Linked DNA regions of Homo sapiens: regions 1, 2, 3, 4 and 5 are each linked to region 6. The links are contacts of gene promoters, found by promoter capture Hi-C in blood cells and fetal thymus (Javierre and others, 2016). All regions are on one chromosome and are shown on one strand. Each heading gives the region's core, a stretch centred on a gene start or on the middle of the fragment in contact. The rest is flanking DNA. Distances are from core to core; before and after follow the strand shown. Region 1 overlaps KYAT3 (kynurenine aminotransferase 3). Region 2 holds the start of GTF2B (general transcription factor IIB). Region 3 overlaps KYAT3 (kynurenine aminotransferase 3). Region 4 overlaps GBP7 (guanylate binding protein 7). Region 5 overlaps KYAT3 (kynurenine aminotransferase 3). Region 6 holds the start of LRRC8D (leucine rich repeat containing 8 VRAC subunit D).

Evidence for each region. Contacts are between HindIII fragments. The CHiCAGO score rates a contact against its expected background, and 5 or more counts as called.
Region 1: a fragment that was not itself captured here is called in contact with the fragment with the promoter of LRRC8D in region 6 in 2 of 17 cell types (activated CD4 T cells and naive CD8 T cells); the score reaches 7.1 in activated CD4 T cells.
Region 2: a contact is called between the fragment with the promoter of GTF2B here and the fragment with the promoter of LRRC8D in region 6, in 4 of 17 cell types (activated CD4 T cells, naive CD8 T cells, neutrophils and 1 more). The highest score is 8.0, in activated CD4 T cells.
Region 3: a fragment that was not itself captured here is called in contact with the fragment with the promoter of LRRC8D in region 6 in 4 of 17 cell types (neutrophils, fetal thymus, total B cells and 1 more); the score reaches 10.5 in neutrophils.
Region 4: a contact is called between a fragment that was not itself captured here and the fragment with the promoter of LRRC8D in region 6, in 1 of 17 cell types (neutrophils). The highest score is 5.1, in neutrophils.
Region 5: a contact is called between a fragment that was not itself captured here and the fragment with the promoter of LRRC8D in region 6, in 6 of 17 cell types (activated CD4 T cells, naive CD8 T cells, total CD8 T cells and 3 more). The highest score is 9.5, in activated CD4 T cells.

Annotation. Positions count from the first base shown.
Region 1 is chr1:88,946,135-88,949,448 of GRCh38, reverse strand. It overlaps KYAT3 (kynurenine aminotransferase 3), which reads left to right. Exons shown (of 14, transcript NM_001008661.3): 11 at 172-358. Among named protein-coding and RNA genes, the nearest start is that of KYAT3, 45 kb to the left of the region's middle. The HindIII fragment of the contact is 3,334 bases long and covers 190-3,314 here.
Region 2 is chr1:88,890,212-88,893,348 of GRCh38, reverse strand. It overlaps GTF2B (general transcription factor IIB), which reads left to right and starts at 1,782. Exons shown (of 7, transcript NM_001514.6): 1 at 1,782-1,866. The coding sequence starts at 1,850. RefSeq lists an enhancer at 1,497-1,606. The HindIII fragment of the contact is 16,776 bases long and covers 1-3,137 here.
Region 3 is chr1:88,984,848-88,988,141 of GRCh38, reverse strand. All of the region lies in intron 2 of KYAT3 (kynurenine aminotransferase 3), which reads left to right. The region is part of intron 2 of RBMXL1 (RBMX like 1); the gene reads left to right. Among named protein-coding and RNA genes, the nearest start is that of KYAT3, 6.1 kb to the left of the region's middle. The HindIII fragment of the contact is 3,376 bases long and covers 1-3,078 here.
Region 4 is chr1:89,136,222-89,139,272 of GRCh38, reverse strand. The region is part of intron 9 of GBP7 (guanylate binding protein 7); the gene reads left to right. All of the region lies in intron 1 of LOC105378842 (a long non-coding RNA gene), which reads right to left. Among named protein-coding and RNA genes, the nearest start is that of GBP2, 12 kb to the right of the region's middle. The HindIII fragment of the contact is 8,826 bases long and covers 1-3,051 here.
Region 5 is chr1:88,962,246-88,965,710 of GRCh38, reverse strand. It overlaps KYAT3 (kynurenine aminotransferase 3), which reads left to right. Exons shown (of 14, transcript NM_001008661.3): 5 at 733-882. Among named protein-coding and RNA genes, the nearest start is that of KYAT3, 29 kb to the left of the region's middle. The HindIII fragment of the contact is 2,075 bases long and covers 780-2,854 here.
Region 6 is chr1:89,819,314-89,822,453 of GRCh38, reverse strand. LRRC8D (leucine rich repeat containing 8 VRAC subunit D) reads right to left here and starts at 1,422. Exons shown (of 3, transcript NM_001134479.2): 1 at 1,163-1,422. LRRC8D-DT (LRRC8D divergent transcript) reads left to right here and starts at 660. Exons shown (of 1, transcript NR_185885.1): 1 at 660-2,280. RefSeq lists silencers at 453-672, 544-753, 844-943, 1,044-1,393, 1,834-1,893. The HindIII fragment of the contact is 10,555 bases long and covers 1-3,140 here.

The DNA of each region.
Region 1 (3,314 bases), core at 607-3,106, 870 kb after region 6:
CCATTAACCTATAGAGTTTAATATAGGTTCACAGGAATTCAACTGTTATTTCCTGAGTGACTTCTTTGCCAATAATTTTACTCAGATCATCTCTATTTATTATACCAATAAACTAAGCAATAAATAACATTGCCATATGCCTTTTCATATTTTTTGATTCTTAACAAACAGGAAGCCTTGGCTCAAGCTTTCTGGATTGACATCAAGCGCATGGATGACCCAGAATGTTACTTTAATTCTTTGCCAAAAGAGTTAGAAGTAAAAAGAGATCGGATGGTACGTTTACTTGAAAGTGTTGGCCTAAAACCCATAGTTCCTGATGGAGGATACTTCATCATCGCTGATGTGTCTTTGCTAGGTTTGTAAAGGCTTTTATTATTTCAACTATACGGAAACTTATGTGTGAAATTATATCAGAATTATGGAGAAAAGATTGGTGTCAAAGCCACAGCAGCATTTTATCTGTGGAGAAGGATGGATTTTTGCAATGTCTACATTTTCTATAATTATCTTTACTTTTAGGCCTTTTACCTTAAATGTGACCATTGTTAAATGGTTATGGAGTCAGTGTTGTTCTAGTTAGTCTATTAAACATAGGATTTGCTATCACTCTCTTCTGGTGTGTAATTTTAAAACACAAGTGTGTGAAATAATATTATATACTCAGTGTTCATTTGAGTAAAATTGTAGTTTCCTTTTTACTTAACAAAATGTACTATTTCATTAGAAAAATATCTAGAAATTTTGAAGCTATCAGGGAATATTTGCCATTTTAGAATGTACTGAAATAAAATAAATGGGAGAATAACACTTATTGAGGGTCTACTTTGTGCCACGTACTCAAAACACCCTTTTGAAGAAAACATTAGCTCCATTTTTGCAGGTAAAAAGATTTAGAAAGTTTTAAATAGCTTCCCTGAAGTCACACAGCTAGATTCTAAATAGTTCTGTTTCCAAAAAGCATTGTTTTTTATATTACCTAAAGCTGTTATATGTAATTCTGACATGCCATACAAATCTAAAGTTAGAAGCATGATAATGTGTCATATATAACTTTTCTTTTAAAAAAATTAGTAATAGTAAACCTTGAAGCCTAATTTATCATGACAGAAATTACAGCCATTCTAAATATAGTTTTAAATGTTTTAAAATTTTATTACAATGAAGTTATATGCCAATGAACTTGAAAAACTGAAGTGTTTTATTTATACTAAATTGTATAAAGCTGGAAAGAGTAAAGGAAATTTTCAATTTTATAGCAAAACATTGATCATATTTTTTAACTTTACATCCTTCACATAGGAGTTTGTTTTGTTTTGTTTTGTTTTGTTTTGTTTTGTTTTGTTTTGTTTTGTTTGAGGCAGGGTCTGGCCCTGTCACCCAGGCTGGAGTGCAGTGGCGTGATCTCAGCTCACTGCAACCTCTGCCTCCTGGGCTCAAGCCATCCTGCCACCTGAGTCTCCTGAGTAGCTGGGACCACAGGCATGCACCACCACACCTAGCTAATTTTTAAATTTTTTTTAGAGACGAGGTTTTGCCACATTTCCCAGGCTGGTCATGAATTCCTGAGCTTAATGAGTGATCCACCTGCCTCAGCCTCCCAAAGTGCTGGGATTACAGGCATGAGCCACTGGCTGAGTTCTTTCTTACTATAAGCATTTGATGCTAGCAATTTTTACTTGTAATAGTTCATTATCATCTTAGCAAATTTCAGAAAAGTAAGGTGTTATGATTTTCCTATAATTTGGTCTTCAGGTCTGTCTCTCTGGAAAGTGGCTGTAAACTCTAGCTGTTCCCTGATGGGGCTCCAGGGGAGGTCCTGGATGTTTGCAGTGTGCCTTTCATGGGCTACTTGTTTATCCTGGCAGATGGCCTGATGTTAAGTGTCTGACCCATGACCAGACATCCCTGGAAACTGGTTTATACTGGCAGACATCCTTGTGGCTCTCATCTGACCTGTATCCAGTTTATTTCCACAGAGATAGCCACTCTCTAGGAGGAGGAGAGTTAGGTTCCGGTGTGTTGGTCAGTTGGGACACAGAAGAGGCAGCAGGCCTCCCGGGACCAATGGGAAGTGAGGAGTGGTCCAGGATATACACACTCAACCAGCAGGTGGGGAACAGAGAGAGAGTGGGATCTGTGGGCCAAAGCCTTTTTGGGGGCCCAAGGTGTTACCCAAGCAGGTTTCCTGCAGAGACTTCTAACAGATGGGTTTAGAGCGAGCAGGCACAAGCTCATGGTGTCAGGCTGTGACTGAGAGGTGGTCACTGTGGCATATCTAGGCAGTCCATGAGGAGGGTGGGGGTCAGTGGGCGAGTCAAGTAGGTTGTATCTAGCTGTACCACAGTGAGGTGCTCGCCAGGAGGTGGTTGTCTCAGGCAGATATCTGAATCAACTACATTGAGGAACTGTGAGGAGGAAGAGAAGTGGAAATTGTGTCAAGGGTGACTAAGCCCTGCTTCTGGTATAAGAAAGACCAACTTATATTCACAATGGATGCCAAGACAACATACAGTCATAAGAATTCATTACATGAGGTTTGGCTCAAACTGAAACACTCTCCTTCCTTTCACATTAGCTTATTTCTTCATTTGTTGTGAGAGAAGAGGCTTTGACAAGCAAAGATTCCTGCAGTGCTATTGCCATAGAGCTGTATTTAGCAGGCTCCCAAGCTCTATGCTTATATAGAACCTCTTAAGGTGTTCTAGACTCTGAGATTTGGGAAGTGCTTTTTCTATATTGAGTCTAAATGTGCAGTTCATTTTATGAAATGATAAAAAAAATTAGCACAGTTGTCATCACTTATATTTTTGCCTTTGAATCATAAATCCCCAAGATTTCCATATGAATTATTATTTTTTTAAAAGAACAACATTTGTACTTTATATGCTTCCAAAAGGAATGTGAGCCTTCTCATATTAAAAGTTTTCTATGCAGTAATATATAAATAGAAATGATTGTATCTAAATCAAAAATCAATGATACATGGCCAGTACAGTGACTCCTGCCTGTAATCCCAGCACTTTGGGAGGCCAAGGCGGGAGGATTGCTTGAGCCCGGGAGTTCAAGACCAGCCTGGGCAACATAGTGAGATCCTGTCTCTTAAATTAAAAAAAAAAAAAATCAGTTACACATAGGAGGGAAAGAAAGCAAATATTTCAGTCACCTAGGTTCACATAGTATTGTAATTAGCATTAACTTGAGACTAAACTTCCTGACAGTAAAGGCAAACAGAAAAATGAAATTAGTTGCGTAGTTTTTGAATAAAAAGAAACTTAGCTTTTTAGATAAGAACAATTCTTTCCTGGAACCAA
Region 2 (3,137 bases), core at 533-3,032, 930 kb after region 6:
TCTAAGTTCTCAGCCCCATGAAAACCACCATGAAAATACCAATCCCCGTATTTTCAAGAATAGTTGTCAGCAAAGTGTTGCCGCAGGAGAATACTGTCTGAAGGCAGGGAACCTAAGGCAGATTCACACTGATTTCCTAGAACTAAATCAAATGGAAAACCCCGGCCGGGCGCGGTGGCTCACGCCTGTAATCCCAGCACTTTGGGAGGCCAAGGCGGGCGGATGACGAGGTCAGGAGATCAAGACCATCCTGGCTAACAGGGTGAAACCCCGTCTCTACTAAAAATACAAAAACAAAATTAGCCGGGCGTGGTGGCAGGCTCCTGTAGTCCCAGCTACTCGGGAGGCTGAGGCAGGAGAATGGCGTGAACCTGGCAGGCGGAGCTTGCAGTGAGCCCAGATCGCGCCACTGCACTCCAGCCTGGGCGACAGAGCAAGACTCCGTCTCAAAAAAAAAAAAAAAAAAGGAAAACCCCAACTTTCCACACCTAAGTAACAAAAGAACCAGACGTTACTCCCTTTGCAACCCCCTCCCCACTACACAACCACACACACACACACACACACACACACACACACTTTAGCCGTGTGGCAGATGTGAAATTGAAAGTATCTCTGATTCGTTGCTTTCTGCAACCAATCAGACGCTTGCATAGGAGTGTAACTTTGTAACTTCACTTTAGCCTCTGATTGGTTGCTTTCCACAACCAATCAGACTGATTGTGGAGCCACTACTTCATTTACATAGGGTGTACACCATGTAACCAATGGGAAACCTCTAGAGGGTATTTAAACCCCCGAAAATTCTGCAAAAGGAGTCTTGAGCTGGTATTACCTTTTCGTTTTCAATAAATCTCTGCCTTTATTCCTTCATTCTTTCCTTAGTTTGTGCGTTGTGTCCAGTTCTTTGTTCAAAACGCCAAGAACGTGAATACTCTCCACCGGTAACTGTTATTGTTGTTAGTAATAGTGGTATTACAATTTTGACGTTAGTTTGGCTAATTAATAAATCTAGGGATATTTTGCAATATCTAGATGTTCTCGCAAGTTTTCTATATGTAGCTATCAGCCAACGTTACAAAGGCCGTGAAAAAAAAATGATCAGAGCATGGCCCATATCGTCGTGCCTCTTGTGTACACATTGGTTTCACGTAGTTTTGTTTCATCTTCTGCCAATTCTAAAAGGGTATGCAAGGCAAGATACCATAACCTATATAAACTTACATGACCTGTATAAAGGACGTGCCTAAGAAGACAACATGCTAGCTGATGACAGATCCTGAACAGACACCTGTTCTGGATGACCTAAGTGAGTTTCTCCTTTTATTTCAAATTTCTTAGAAAGAATCACCCTTGGGGCACGTAAGAACTGGCTCAAATGGGAGTGCCTGACGCGGGGTGGGGGGCTGGGGGCGGGGTAGGTGGTGGCCGTGAGAAGGTAGCCGTGAGAAGGTGGGAGAGGAAGGGGTGGTTAAACTATTAGGGATGCAGGCTTTGGCACCACTACGAAGCCAGGGTTTTCTTTGTGTTTTAACTGTCAGATTGAGAGTAGCTCTGTTGTAGCCCCTTTGCAGGGTTCCCATGAGACTTTTCCTAGGTAGTTACGTTGACTCGCTTAGCAACATAGCAAATTACAGAAACGGAGTAAGAACGTAAGAAATCGCAAAGCACGTGACGTATGGGATCTCACTGTTCTTGGCCCTTCTCCCGACCCGTAGCCCTGCTCTGCTACGACTGCGTGGGTGAGTCGTCTATAAAAACTCATCTCTGCGCGTCTCTTCGCCACATTCGCTTCCTGCTTTCGGTGTGTCTGTTGTGTCTTGTTGCGGGCACCGCAGTCGCCGTGAAGATGGCGTCTACCAGCCGGTTAGTATGTCCCGCCGAGCCCGGCGAGCTGAGGGGCGGGCGCGAGCGCCGCCGGCTTTTAGGCGGCCTCCGGGCAGCCTCGTAGGGCTGAGCGCCTAGGGGTATGGGAGAGAAGCGGCGGGACTGGCCGACGGGCCGGGACAAAGGCACTTCCAGACGGCAGGACTGTCAGGGTGTCGCAGGGGTTACCGAGCTGTTGACGTTATTGCCCTGGAGTCTTATGTAGATATCACCCTATGTGGGTCCTGGTGGGCTACTGTGTCCCCAGTCCTTGCCCTCGTATCTTTTCCCAATATTTCAATCTCCCTTTATTTTCTCTTCTTCCCACCCTCCCTCCTCTCCTCCCCCGCGCCCCCCCCCCCGCTTGTTTTTTTCATCTACGGCCCAAACAACCCGAGGGTCCGTAATTTCTCCTTTTCAAAGGAACGGGAAACAGTTAGTTTCAGGTTCCTATCGATCTGACAGCTAGGAAGTTGGGAACGTCAGCATTGGTAAGCCAGATGGAACCTGGTTGGTTACCATCACAGCGGGCCTCGGAAGTGGAAGCTAGAGCCATCGGAAGAGTTGATTAGTTCCCTGCTAAAGGATTTGTTTACAAATATCGTTGCCTGTGTACTTCTGAAGAAAATCTTGCCAAAGAAAATTAGTTATATGTGCTGGGAGGTCGCTTTTTAGTATATATTTAAGAATGCAGTGTACTCATATCTACAGGAAATGCATGCAGTACCCTCAGAAACAGCCTTTAATCTTGTGACCTGAAAAATGCTTGCAGACCCTAATTATGTCTCTCATTACCACTGTGAGGTAGATATTAGTATTTTTGCATAAGTGTAAACTGAGTCATGCCAATGTTGACTTTTCCAAGAGTCGTGTTAGAGTGTAGAGTCTAAGACAACCTGTTTCCTGTTATCCACACCTGGCCTTTGGTTAACTAATCCTGTGTTGAAAGTATCAAATTAATTCTACAGCTTCTGGAACTCTGGCACTATTTTTCTGACCCTGCTATCATCTGTGGAATTGGTTAATTTCACAGTGAAAGCCATTTTTACAAAATAGCCTTTTCTGGTAACTGCCAAGACTTACATTTTATGATTAGAAAAGGAATTTGGGGTGGGAGGCAGCTTTAGCTAATATACTGTTTGAACAGAACTCATAAAGCCAGTGACACTCTTGTTTACTGATTCTGATTCTTGGATTGGATGCTCAGTCATTCTATCTGGGTGTTGTTCTGTCGGGTAAGGCCTCCTTGTAGGTAAATGGAAAACTTGGGC
Region 3 (3,294 bases), core at 141-2,640, 830 kb after region 6:
TATTACATATGCTGAAGGTGTCTCTTGTCATTGACTAGAATTGACATTCACTGAGCAACTGCTTGCCTGTCTGTGGATCAGGCCATGTGCTGGTCATTATATATTCATTACCTCATTTTGTCTTCACAAAACCCTTCAAGTTATGAATATAGGTCCAGTGGCATGGGAAAAAAGTAGAAGAGGATATTTCAGGAGGACTGCTCAGGGATCGAAAAAGGTTTAAAACCCATAACCACCAAATACAATACGTACATCTGCTTTAGGAACTTGATTCAGTCAACCAAAATGCAGAAAGACATTTTTTAAAGACAATCAGAGAGATACGAATGTGGACTGGGTATTAGATGTTAACAAGAAATTATTGTTGGTGAGGTGTGGTAATGAAATTGCAGTTATATAAGTAGCAATATTTTTTAGATAATATGCCAAGTATGTAGGGATGTAATGACCTAAGGTCTAAGATTTATTCTAAAGTTACTCAGCAATTACAGAAAAAAAGAGGCAAAATCTTGAGAATTACTGAATCTGGGTAGTGTGCATATGAGTGTTTTATATTAGGTTAAAGTATATGAAATTGCTATTTTTGTATGAAAATTCCATTTTTGGCATATGAAGTACCATTTTTGTCATAACTGGTTGAATATTGACAATTTTGTATTCAACCTAATTCTAATCTCTCAACTGGTTTAAAATTTTCTCAGTGGTTTAAAATTTTCATAAAAACCATCATCAGTGTCTTCTATATGTAAATCTTATGAATTCTACCTCATAACTGTCTTGAATTCTCTCCTCTTTATGCCACCGTGACCACCTTTTTCAGGCCCTCTCCCAACATAGAAGTCGGTTGAAGCCAGGGAAGTGGTTGTGCTTCCCCAAGGTGAACATATGAAACCATGGCACTAAAAGGGCATTTGTGTGCACAATCCTCATTTGTGGAACTTTTATTAGACTACGTATGCCAGGGCTCACCATTATGCATTCTAATTCTACATATCTGGAATGTATTTTGAAAAATCTTTCCAGCTGATTCTGATGTATGTCCCAGGCAAAAACCACTGACAATGCATTATTCAAACTTGTGGACTATTTGGGATAGCACTAACCCCTCTCCATACCTAGCAGTGGAATGGTTGGGTTGTGTGGTAGCTTTATGTTTAATTAAGTAACTGCCAAAGTGTTTGTATCATTTTAACTACATTGGAAAAGTGTCTACAGTTCATCAGAGGCTTTGCATTTAAAATAGTCGCACAGGGATAAAGATAAATATTCTTCCTATTGCTGGACGAATGAAAAACACTGGCCAGTGTTACAAAAGCAATAGTGATAAGTTTAAATCAAGAAAGACTTGTCAGAACCAGCCAGATAAGTTACTGTGAACTTACTTAGAATATTCGTTTCATCCACATCATCCTTAATGTCATGAAAATCTGCCGGGAAGGGAATAGAATGAAGGATAGGCTGTATTTTCCTGTATTACTTGCTTTTTTACAAAAACATTTTACATATTCTCTAATTTTAAAGAATGTTTTGAATGCTAAAGGAAAAATGTAGGCGGGGCGCAGTGGCTAACACCTGCAATCCCAGCACTTTGGGAGGCTGAGGCCAGTGGATCGCTTGAGACCAGGAGTTCAAGACCAGCCTGGGCAACATGGCAAAACCTCATCTCTATTAAACATACAAAACATTAGCTGGGCACACACCTGTAGTCCAGGATGGTCTCAATCTCCTGACCTTGTGATCCACCTGCCTCGGCCTCCCAAAGTGCTGGGATTACAGGCGTGAGCCACCGCGCCTGGCCCTAAAATAGTCTATTAATTTTTTTTTTTTTAAGAGAGTCTAAAATTTAAATGTCCACCAGAGAAGCGCAAAAGCAACACTGGACAAAACCTTTTCCTTAGGTCTGTCCTTCCTTAAGGAAATCAACTCTCTCTGTCTCTCTCTCTCTCTCTTTTTTTTTTTTCATACAGTCTCTCACTCTTGCCGCCCAGGCTGGAGTGCAATGGCGCAATCTCGGCTCACTGCAGCCTCCGCCTCTCGGGTTCAAGCAATTCTCCTGCCTCAGCCTCCTGAGTAGCTGGGACTATAGGTGCCCGCCACCACTCCCGGCCAATATTTGTATTTTTTGTAGAGACGGGGTTTTGCCATGTTGGCCAGGCTGGTCTCAAACTACTGGGCTCAAGTGATCCACCCTCCTCAGCCTCCCAAAGTGCTGAGATTACAGGCATGAGTCACTGCGTCCAGCCCAACCCTCTCTTTTGATGTGAAAGTATCACCTTTTGTACATTTAGTCCATACCCAATATCTCTTTGCCTCCTTTAGTGCAAAGTTACTCATCCTTACTTGTATCTAAGAGAATCTTTCCTACTTTCTGAGTGGGCACTAGTTTTGGAGTATATATATTGTATGCCATGAACTATATTTTTCTGCTTATGGCTTTGCCTCATTTAATTGCCATAGCACTTACATGGGGCAGGTATTCATTTTCCTGCTTAGCAAATAAGGAAACTGAATTTCAGAGATGTCAGGTAACCTGCCTACTTCACACACTAGGAGTTTTGATGTTTAATTTTGAACTAAGATCTATCTGGCTTGAAAGCTCTTTGCATTAAACAACCTTGAACAATATACTTGGAACGTAGGTGTGTTTTTGGCACAGAACATGGCATGTGTGTGAGGGATTGAACACAGACTTGCCCAGATTCAAACTTACCAATCTTCTGTTTCATGTGCCCAGAAGAAACAGCCTGTTTCTCAGCCTCAAACCCAAACTTCTAGTTGTCTTGATTGGTTCAGCCTGACTGTCCAACTCTGATTTATAGCTGTGATTGGGGGAGCTGAGATTACACAGTGTAGGCAGGCAGAAGGGCCCCAGGCCTATTGATATGGGTGAGGACAATACTCACGCACTCCCTTCACTTACTCACTCTTCCAAGGTCTTGGCTTGAACCCAATTTTTTTTGAGAGAATAAACCAGGCTTTTTGTTCTCCACTTGGCCTGACTCCATTTCTGGCATTCCAGCCATGTATTTAGCTGTTATCAGCTTTCAGATTTAGAGAAAGCCTTGTTTCCAATAAGCTTGTTTCTCTGAAGTAATTGTTAAAATATAATTTTCAGAAAAAGGTTAAATCATGACTCATACAAATATAAAAATGAACATGTGCTAAAGATTTTTATTTCACTCATGTGATATGAAGTAACCAGACAGAAGTTATAACCAGTACATATGGAAAGTCAAAAAGCACAAATTCATATGTAGTAAAGGAATTGGATTGCAAATGAAGGCAAAACTGTTT
Region 4 (3,051 bases), core at 371-2,870, 680 kb after region 6:
AAGGAAGGGATCCAGTTTCAGCTTTCTACATATGGCCAGCCAGTTTTCCCAGCACCATTTATGAAATAGGGAATCCTTTCCCCATTGCTTGTTTTTGTCAGGTTTGTCAAAGATCAGATGGTTGTAGATATGTGGCATTATTTCTGAGGGCTCTGTTCTGTTCCATTGATCTATATCTCTGTTTTGGTGTTGAGCATTTTTTCATATGCTTGCTGGCCATGTGTATGTCTTCTTGGATAAATGTCTGTTAATGTCCATTGCCCATTTTTTAATGGGGTTGTTTGCTTTGTTCTTAATTTCTTTAACTTCCTTATAGATTCTGGATATTAGACTTTTTTCAGATGCATAGTTTGCAGATATTTTCTCCCATTCTGTAGGTTGTCTGTTTACTCTGTTTATAGTTTCCTTTGTTGTGCATGAACTCTTTAGTTGAATTAGGTCCCTCTTGTTAACTTTTTGTTCGGTTGCAGTGGCTTTTGAAGTTTTCATCAGGAAATCTTTGCCAGTGCCTATGTCCAGAATGGTATTTCCTAGGTTTTCTTTTGGTGGTTTTATAGTTTTAAATTTTACATTTACATCTTTAACTCATCTTGAGTTGATTTTTGTATATAGTGAGAAGAAGGGGTCCAGTTTCAATCTTCTGCATATAGCTAGCCAGTTAACCCAGCACCATTTATTGAATAATGCATTCTTTCTCCATTGCTTTTTTTGTTAGCTTTACCAAAGATCAGATAGTTGTAGGTGTGTGGTATTATTTCTGCTTTCTTTAAACTTTTCCATTTGTTCATGTGTCTGTTTTGTTTTGTTTTGTTTTTTGACCAGCACCATGCTATTTTGGTTATTGTAGTCTTGTAATATAGTTTAAACTCAAGTCATGTGATGTCTCTGGCTTTGTTCTTTTTGCTTAGGAGTGCCTTGGCTACTCGGGGTTTTTTTGTTGTTGTTGTTCCATGTGGATGTTAGAATAGTTTTTACTAATTCTATTTTTAAAAAGTCATCGATAATTTGATAGGAATAGCATTGAATATGTAAATCAATTTGGGCAGTATGGCTATTTTAACAACATTGATTCTTCCTATCCATATGCATGAAATAATTTTCCATTTGTTTGTGCAGTCTCAGATTTCTTTCAGCAGTGTTTTATAATTCTCATTGTAGAGATGCTTCACCTCCCTGATTGGCTGTAAACCTAGGTATTTTATTCTTGGTTATTCACAATAGCTATTGTGAATAGGATTGTGTTCTCGGTTTGACTTTCAGCTTGGACATTATTGGTGTGTAGAAATGCTACTTATTTTTGTACATTTACTTTTTTATCCTGAAACTTTGCTGATGTTTATCAGATGGATGAGACTTTGGGCAGAAATTATGGAGTTTTCTAACTACAGAATTCTATTGTCTATGAAGAGAGAGAGTTTGACTTCCTCTCTTCCTATTGGATAACTTTTTTTTTCCCCTTTGCCTGATTTCTCTGGCTAGGACTTCCAGTACTATGTTGAATAAGAGTTGTTGAGAGTGGGCATCCTTGTCTGTTTTTGGTTCTCAAGTGAAATGTTTCCAGCTTTTTCACATTCAGTATGATGTTGGCTGTGGGTTTTTCATAGATGGCTTTTATTATTTTGAGGTATGTTCCTTTGAGGCCCAGTTTGTTGAGATATTTTAACATGAAATATTGAATTTTATCAAAAGCCTTTTCTGTGCCCATTGAGAAGATCATCTGGTTTTTGTTCTGAGTCCCGTTTGTGTGAGGAATCAATTTATTATTAGCATATGCTGAATCAACCTTGCATTCCAGGAATAAAGCCTAATTGACAGTGGTGGGTTCGCTTTTTAATGTGCTGCTGGATTTGGTTTGCTAGTATTTTGTTGAAGATTTTTTCATCCATGTTCATCAGGAATATTGTCCTGCATTTTTCTTTTTTTGTTGTGTCTCTGCCAGGTTTTTAAAATCAGAATGATGCTGGCCTCATAGAATGTATTAGGAAAGATTCCCTGCTCCCCATTTTTTTTGGAATAGTTTAGTAGAATTGGTACCAGCTCTTCTTTCTATGTATGGCAGAACTGACTATGACTCTGTCTGGTCTAGGGCTTTTTCTGCTTGGTAGGCTTTTTAATGCTGACCCAATTTTGGAACTTGTTATTAGTCTGTTCCAGGTTTCAATTTCTTCCTGGTTCACTTTTGGTAGGTTGTATGTTTCCAGGAATTTATCCATTTCTTCTAGGTTTCTTAGTTAGTGTGCATAGTGGTGTTCATAATAGTCTCTCAGGATTTTTTGTATTTCTGTGGAGTTGATAGCAATGTCCCTTTTGCCATTTTTTTATTGTGTTTATTTGGATCTTCTCTTTTTTTGTTCTTTTTTAGTCTAACTAGAAGTATATCCATCTTATGTATTTTTCCAGAGAACCATTGGTTTCATTGATCTTTTGTATGGTTTTTCTTGTCTCCACTTTATTCACTTCAAGTCTGATTTTGGTTATTTCTTGTCTCAGCTAGCTTTGTGCTTGGTTCACTTTTGTTTTTCTAGTTCCTCAAGGTGTAATGTTAGATTGTTAATTTGAGATATTTCTAACTTTCTACTGTAGTCGTTTAGTGCTATTAACATTCCTCTTAACACTGCTCTAGTTGTGTCTCAAAGATTCTGGTAGGTTGTATCTTTGTTTTCATTAATTTCAAATAATTTATTTCTGCCTTAAATTCACTGTTTACCCCAAAATCATTCAGAAGCAGATTAATTAATTTTCATGTAATTGTATAGCTTTGAGAGATATTCTTTGTATTGATTTCTATTTTTACAGCATTGTGGTCTGACAGCATTGGTATGATTTGGGTTTTTTTTTTATTTGTTGAGAATTGCTTTATGGCAGAGCAAGGAGTCAATTTTAGAGTATGTGCCATGTGCAGATGAGATGAATGTATATTCTGTTATTGTTGGGTGGAGTGTTCTGTAGATGTCTGTTAGGTCCATCTGGTCAAATGTCAAGTTAGGTCCTGAATATCTTCGTTAGTTTTTTGCCTCAATGATCTGTCTAATATTGTCAGTGGAGTGTTGA
Region 5 (3,465 bases), core at 568-3,067, 860 kb after region 6:
TAAATACCAAATAAAACAAGGAGGGGGAAAGGAAAAGGAAGAAAAAAAAGGAAGGAAGGGGAGAGAGCCTAGAAGAGAACTTAGGGAGAGCTAATCCAGGAGTCTTCAGACCCCCTGCTTGCCTCAGGCTGTACCTTCATAATCCCTTCACTTCTCCTATGAAAGTAGTTACCTTGGATAACCACTGCTCTCTTGACTGTCAGTGTGAGTAGTGTCTCACTTCCTTCTAACATTTGCTATCACATCAACACTAGTGTTCGTGTCGTTGGTGAATTTGTTTTTGTTCTCTTTCCCTAGTCCATTGGTTGGCATAACCATCTCTCCAGCAATCAGGAAGAGCCAAGGAGTGGGTATACAGTTAAAGTGGGTTTTTTTCACTTATTTTAACTGGGAAACAAATCCAACTCTTTTCAATATGATTTAATTACTGTCAAAAAATACAAATGGTTGATTTTTATTCAAAGCAAATACTTTGAAATTATATAATCCCAAACCCTTTATTTAGTAAGAAGTTTTAATCATTAGCAAGCCTTCATGACAAATAGTGTGGGAATACTCTAAATGTAGGAAATTTTAAAAAATTTATTGCCATTAAAAAATATAAATTTTCTTGGGGTAATTATAAACATCAAATCCAAATTTTAAAAATTCTTACATTTTAGAGCCATATTACCTCAAACAGTAGGTCCCATATTTAAATTCAAGGTTTTGTTCTTATTTTTAATCCAACAGGGCCATCCATCACTTGTGAAAGCTCTGTCCTATCTGTATGAAAAGCTTTATCAAAAGCAAATTGATTCAAATAAAGAAATCCTTGTGACAGTAGGAGCATATGGATCTCTTTTTAACACCATTCAAGCATTAATTGATGAGGGAGATGAAGTAAGTATATTAACATTATCGTAATACCCATATTAATCAATTATCATTTGTCCCACCTTTGAATCTTTCGCTTATATTCTACTCTTTTCTCTTTTTATTTTTAATTATGTTTTAAGTATAATGCATGTACAGTAAAGTTCACAAATCTTAAATGTACAGCTGGATAAATTACTGTGTAAATTTCTGTGCAACTACAACCAGACAAAGATATGATACATTTCCAGTACCCAGAAAACTTCTTTGTTCCTCTTCAGAGTCTATATTCTCCCAGAGGTAAGTACTCTTCTGTCTTCTATTACCATAGGCTTGTTTTCACTGCTCTTTTACTTAATATGAATATAATTATACAGTGTATACTCTTGGGTCTAGATCCATTCATTTATTTTTGTGTCTGTGAGATTCATCCATTTTGTTGCATATAATTTATTCTTATTTTTATAGCCTATTTAAATAAGGGCAGATGGAAGGGACTAACACTGCCAGGGAAAAAGAATCTTTTGTTTTCATTGCTAAAATAACCTTTACTCTTAACTTGGTCTACAAGTTTTTGATCAATGTCTTTGTGTGCCCAGTAATTGTATAAGCCATCCCATGTGAGGATGTTTTTGTGATTGTTTTTGTTTTTTTGAGATGGAGTCCCACTTTGTTGCCCAGGCTGGAGTGCAGTGGCACGATCTTGGTCACTGCAACCTCCACCTCACGGGTTCAAGTGATTCTCGTGCCTCAGCCTACTGAGTAGCTGAGATTACAGGCGCCCGCCACGAAGCCCAGCTAATTTTTGTATTTTTAGTAGAGATGGGATTTTGCCATGTTGGCCAGTCTGGTCTCGAACTCCTGACCTCAGGTGATCCGCCTGCCTCAGCCTCCCAAAGTGCTGGGATTACAGGCGTGAGCCACCACGCCCAGCTGAGAATGTATTAATATAATAGGAAGGTAAAATGATTTCTGCGATTTAGTACTGTGAGGTATGACCAACTTTTGCAACTACCTCAGTCATCTCTACCCGTATTTCCCATTAGCATTCCAATAGCCTTACTTTAATACTTTTTGCCTCTTTCATTTATTCAGAAAATACTGAGGATCCAATATATGCTAAGCACTGTGAGATAGAAGATGTTTTAAAGATAGATTCTATGCAGAAGGTGTTCCCTGTCTAGTAGAGAACACAGACTTGCAAATGGATTACGAGGAACACTATGGTAGTGACAAAAGGAAGAGGCAATCACCTCTGCTAAGTCTGGAAAGCTCCAGAGAGACATTGCTTAAGCTGGGACTGCAGAACGAATATTTATCCTGATCTATATTGTTAACTTTCTTTAAACTCTCATAACCCTTTATCATACCACTTTTATGAAAGATGCCACTATCTGCTTTGTGTTATGTTATTCTTTTACAACTTTGATTCCCTTCACTATGCCAGACAAGATGTTTAAGGAAACATGTTAATGAAGTTCACAGTTTCATATACATAAACTCCTTTAATCCTATACATAGTTTTGTCTCATACTTCGATGTTGTTAATCCTTTGTTGCTTCTTTCTCTGCACTCTGTTGGGAGTATTATAAGGCTTAGCCCTTAGCTTTCTTTCCTCTATTCTTTCTTCCTTCATCAACTTATCTAGTATTTTGAAACCACATACATGTCACTTGCTATCATACTGACCTATTTATTGTTTCTTTATAGCATTTATTACTATCTGAAATTATCTAATGTCCTTATTTGTCTCTCCGTTCATTATAAGCCTCTCTCAGTAGGATATAAGTTCTAGGAGAACTTTATAGCTTTACTGCCAGCACCTAAAATAGTGAGGACGCAATAAATATTCTCAAAAAAAAAAAAAGAGAGAGAGGAATTGTTCACATCATAAAAGTGAAAAAATCAAGGCGAAGAGTAACAGGTATATTTCTCCCACTCTACTGCCCTGCCTCTCCAATTTATTTTCCTTTATTGTGCTCTCACCTTGTATTAAGCTTTATATTTCCCACTAGAGTTACAAAGATAGATTGTCTTAGTCCCTGAGAACTTCACAGATGAGGCTGAGTGTGGTGGCTCAGGCCTGTAATCCCAGCACTTTGGGAGGCTGAGGCAGATCACCTGAGGTTAGGAGTTTGAGACCAGCCTGGGCAACACGGCGAAACCCCATCTCTACTAAAAATACAAAAATTAACCGTGCTTTTGAGAAGAGAGAAACATCTTTACTCTCAAGATAATGCTTTTAAATTAGCACTTTATACCAGGGAACATTACAGTGTTCTCTTCCCACATAGCCTGCTGTCTGTCACTGCTTATACATCACTTATATTCTAGATTTTATTTTCTGATTTGAAATATGAAGAAATGCTTAATCGTTTTGCCTGGAATATCCCTTTGAGAATGTGATAGTCCCATTCTCCAGGTAAATCTATCTATGCATATATGAAATTTTATATGTAATTTCAAATACTCCCACTGCATGCTTATTTATAGATCTCCCTAAGATACCAAGGAGTCCAATTAAGACTACCTGGACAAGTTTGTCTCCGAGGTCTCTTCCCCTCAGATGTTAGCTCCACAAGGGCAAAGCCTGCCTTTTTCACTGCTGTA
Region 6 (3,140 bases), core at 173-2,672:
AAAATATTTTTGAAGATCCAAGAGCAGGAAATCTGCGAGGCAACGAGGAGCCAAATATAAGCCAAGCGGCTCCAGCTGGGCCCCACATTCCGCTAGGACTCCCCAGTACCTATTCCCCATCTCTCCGCCTACATCCTGAGTGCGCCCTCCCTCTCATCTCGGCTGTTTCCTTCCCACAACCCTACCTCCATACTTTCGGCCACACACACCCCAAGTGCGTGCTCCTGGAACCTCACAGCCCACCTCTCCCTCTCCAGCAAGGACCTACCTCTCTTCCCCTCGACCTGCAGCAGTTCTTCTTCACTGCAGCTGGCTTTTTAAGAAATCAAAAAATCTCATTTATCTGCAAGGGATACCCCCTAGTAAAGGGTGACGGAAAGGAGAAGGCCCCTATCAACCCTCCAGTAACTGGAGGTGCTGGTCCTCCCGGCAACCACCCCCAATTCTCCTCCTTTTCAAGCCCCTGGACAGGATTTGAGCAGAAGTCCCGCTCCCAAGAGCCCACGCCTCCAAACAAGCTAGAAGCGGATTATACCGGTACCCAACCCGGAGACGGCCCGCGGACGGCTGGGTGCACCTGCGGGCCCCCAGCTCCCTCCCACAGGCGCGGGGGGCGGGGCGCGGGCCTTCACCTCCCCGCCCCCGCCCGCCGGGCTCCCAGCGCAGCCCACCCTGCACAGGAAGGAAGCGGAGGGGAGGCGATTCTGGAGAAGTTAAAGGGCTCACCTTTGGACGCCGGGCCAGCAAGGCCAGACACCAAACACCCACCTCCGGGAGGAACCAGCAGAGCCGAAACCGGCTCTCCCCGCCTTTCCGATAGGGCGGAGGGAGGTGAGAGAAGGGAGCGCGCGCGAGGGGTTCAGGAGCCAGGAAGCCGCACTCCCCTCCCGCAGGGCCGGCCGCCCGGGGCCGAAGCGGCCGACGCTCAGACTGCAGAAAGCGGAACAATCTCCCAGGCCCTGGCGGCAGCAAACGGGAGCCCACTCCGCTCGCCGCCACCTCCTCCCGACCCCCGGACGTCCCCGAATGAGTTCCCGGCCGCAACCGCAGCTCGGGCCGCGGCGCCTGCGCCAGGGTTGCGCGCTCCGGCTCGGCGCGGCTCCACCTGCGCGTCGCCTTCCCTCGCAGCCCCCGGCCCCTGCCGGGAGAGGTGCGCACCAACCTTGGGGTGCAGCTCGGCCGCCAAGCCACGGCTTATGCTGAGGCCGGAGGTGGCGGCATCACCCGCGGCGGGCGGCGGCTGCACCGGGACGCGCCGGGGCGGCGAAGGCGCGCTGCACCCTGGACCCTGCTCCCGCGGCCCCGCCCGCGGCTGCCACCTCGAAGCGCGGCGGAGGAGCCGGGGCACCACGGGCGGCGGCAGCGGCAGCGGCAGCAGCGGCGACGGGAGCAGCAGCACATGACTCTGTAACGAGGGGAATTAGACAAAGCGTAACATGGACTCCGGGCCCGTGCAGGCGCTGCAGCTCTGGGACCAACCGCAGCCGGCGAGTGCCGCGACTGGCCCGGCCGCAGCCAATGGGGCGGGCCCGGGCCTCCATGTGATTGCGAGCGCTTTCTCCGGTGGCCCTGCAGCGCCTGACCGGACGGGGTCTGTGTGGCGAGGGAGGGGACCCGGGGTTGGAGACTGGCGGCGAGCGACTGCTAGATGCGGAGCAGGTGCTTGGGAGGGGAAGAACGGCAGCCTACATAACCATCGCCGTAATGCTCTCGCAAGCGTCCACCTGGGCAGGGCTCGGTGCCGGGCAGGCGCAGCTGCCAGTTAGCTGCGAGGCATGGTCAGGAGCCTTCACCCGTCCTGGGCGAAGGAGGCTGTCCCGTCGACTAAAACTCTGATATTAAGACTTGGCGCTGGGGGTGGGGAGTTGAATTACGTTAAAAAGTCACTTAAGTGCCTTCCAACTCTAAGGAGAAGTACTTATCTGAGCTTTGGGGCACACACAACTACTACTTGGCATGGAGAGTTTCTCAGCTTCATGTGTTCCGTCTGTTATTGAAGCTGTATTGGAAAGTCGGTTCTTGTTTTTATCTGAGCCCGCCGTTTTCATCCCATTCTTTTCGTCAAAAATATGTTACATCTGAAAGAGGCAGATGAAAAGATTATTCTATGCTAAGAGGGTTTTGCAGCCCGATAATGTCACCGTTTTTTGTTGTTGTTGTTGTAGGATCGGGGTTCATTTGCAGTCTTTTTTGTGGGTGAGCAGAGGCAGGGGCCAATAAATAAATTAAGGCGGGATATTTGGAGTTATTTGGTTGTAATAAAATATGTGGTTCAACCCAGTGCTTTCATATCTTCTTTTATCTGAATCCATGTGTTTCTGTAAACCATCGGAAGTCTAATCTGTCTTCTACCAATATCTCTCCATGTCAGCAAATGTTCAATCAACGTTTACCCAGCATCTAAATATTCTTAATAAGCATGCTGCACAAATGTTACAGGTACTCAGGAAGGTGTCGGTTCAGAGACAGTGAGACATTAAAGAGAATGATTGTCCAGGGTTTCAGAAAAGGATTCAGAGAGGAGCTGATAGAATTGACCCTTGGATGGTGAGCACTTGGCCCTCAGGCATTGGACGTGAAGAAGAGCAGCCCAAACAGGAACATGAACAGAGAGGTCCAGAATACACTCAAGGGACTGCCCGAGACCCGTTACAAGATGCCACCAGATTCTGAGCCCTCGGCCCTTTTGCTCTCACTTTCCTTCCCCGACCCTCCTTGCCAGCAGCCACTCCTGTTCCACACACTGCCAAGAAGGAGGTGTATGGGCAGGGAGTGTGTGTAAGTGATCTAATCAGTGTCAGATTTGCTGATCTAAGAGATGAGAGGTCTTTTAAAACTTAACAACTAGTGGTGTGATATTTTTATTGAAAACAGCCCACTATTATAATGAATATGGAATGTTTTGCTGTTTGTAAAAAAAAAAAAAAATTATAGGCCGGGTGCAGTGGCTCACGCCTGTAGTCCCGGTACCTTGGGAGGCCGAGGCAAGAGGATCACGAGGTCAGGAGTTAGAGACCAGCCTGACCAACATGGTGAAAACCCGTCTCTACTAAAGACACAAAAATTATCTGGGCATGTTGGCACGCACCTGTAATCCAAGCTACTCAGGAGCCTGAGGCAGGAGAATCGCTTGAACCTGG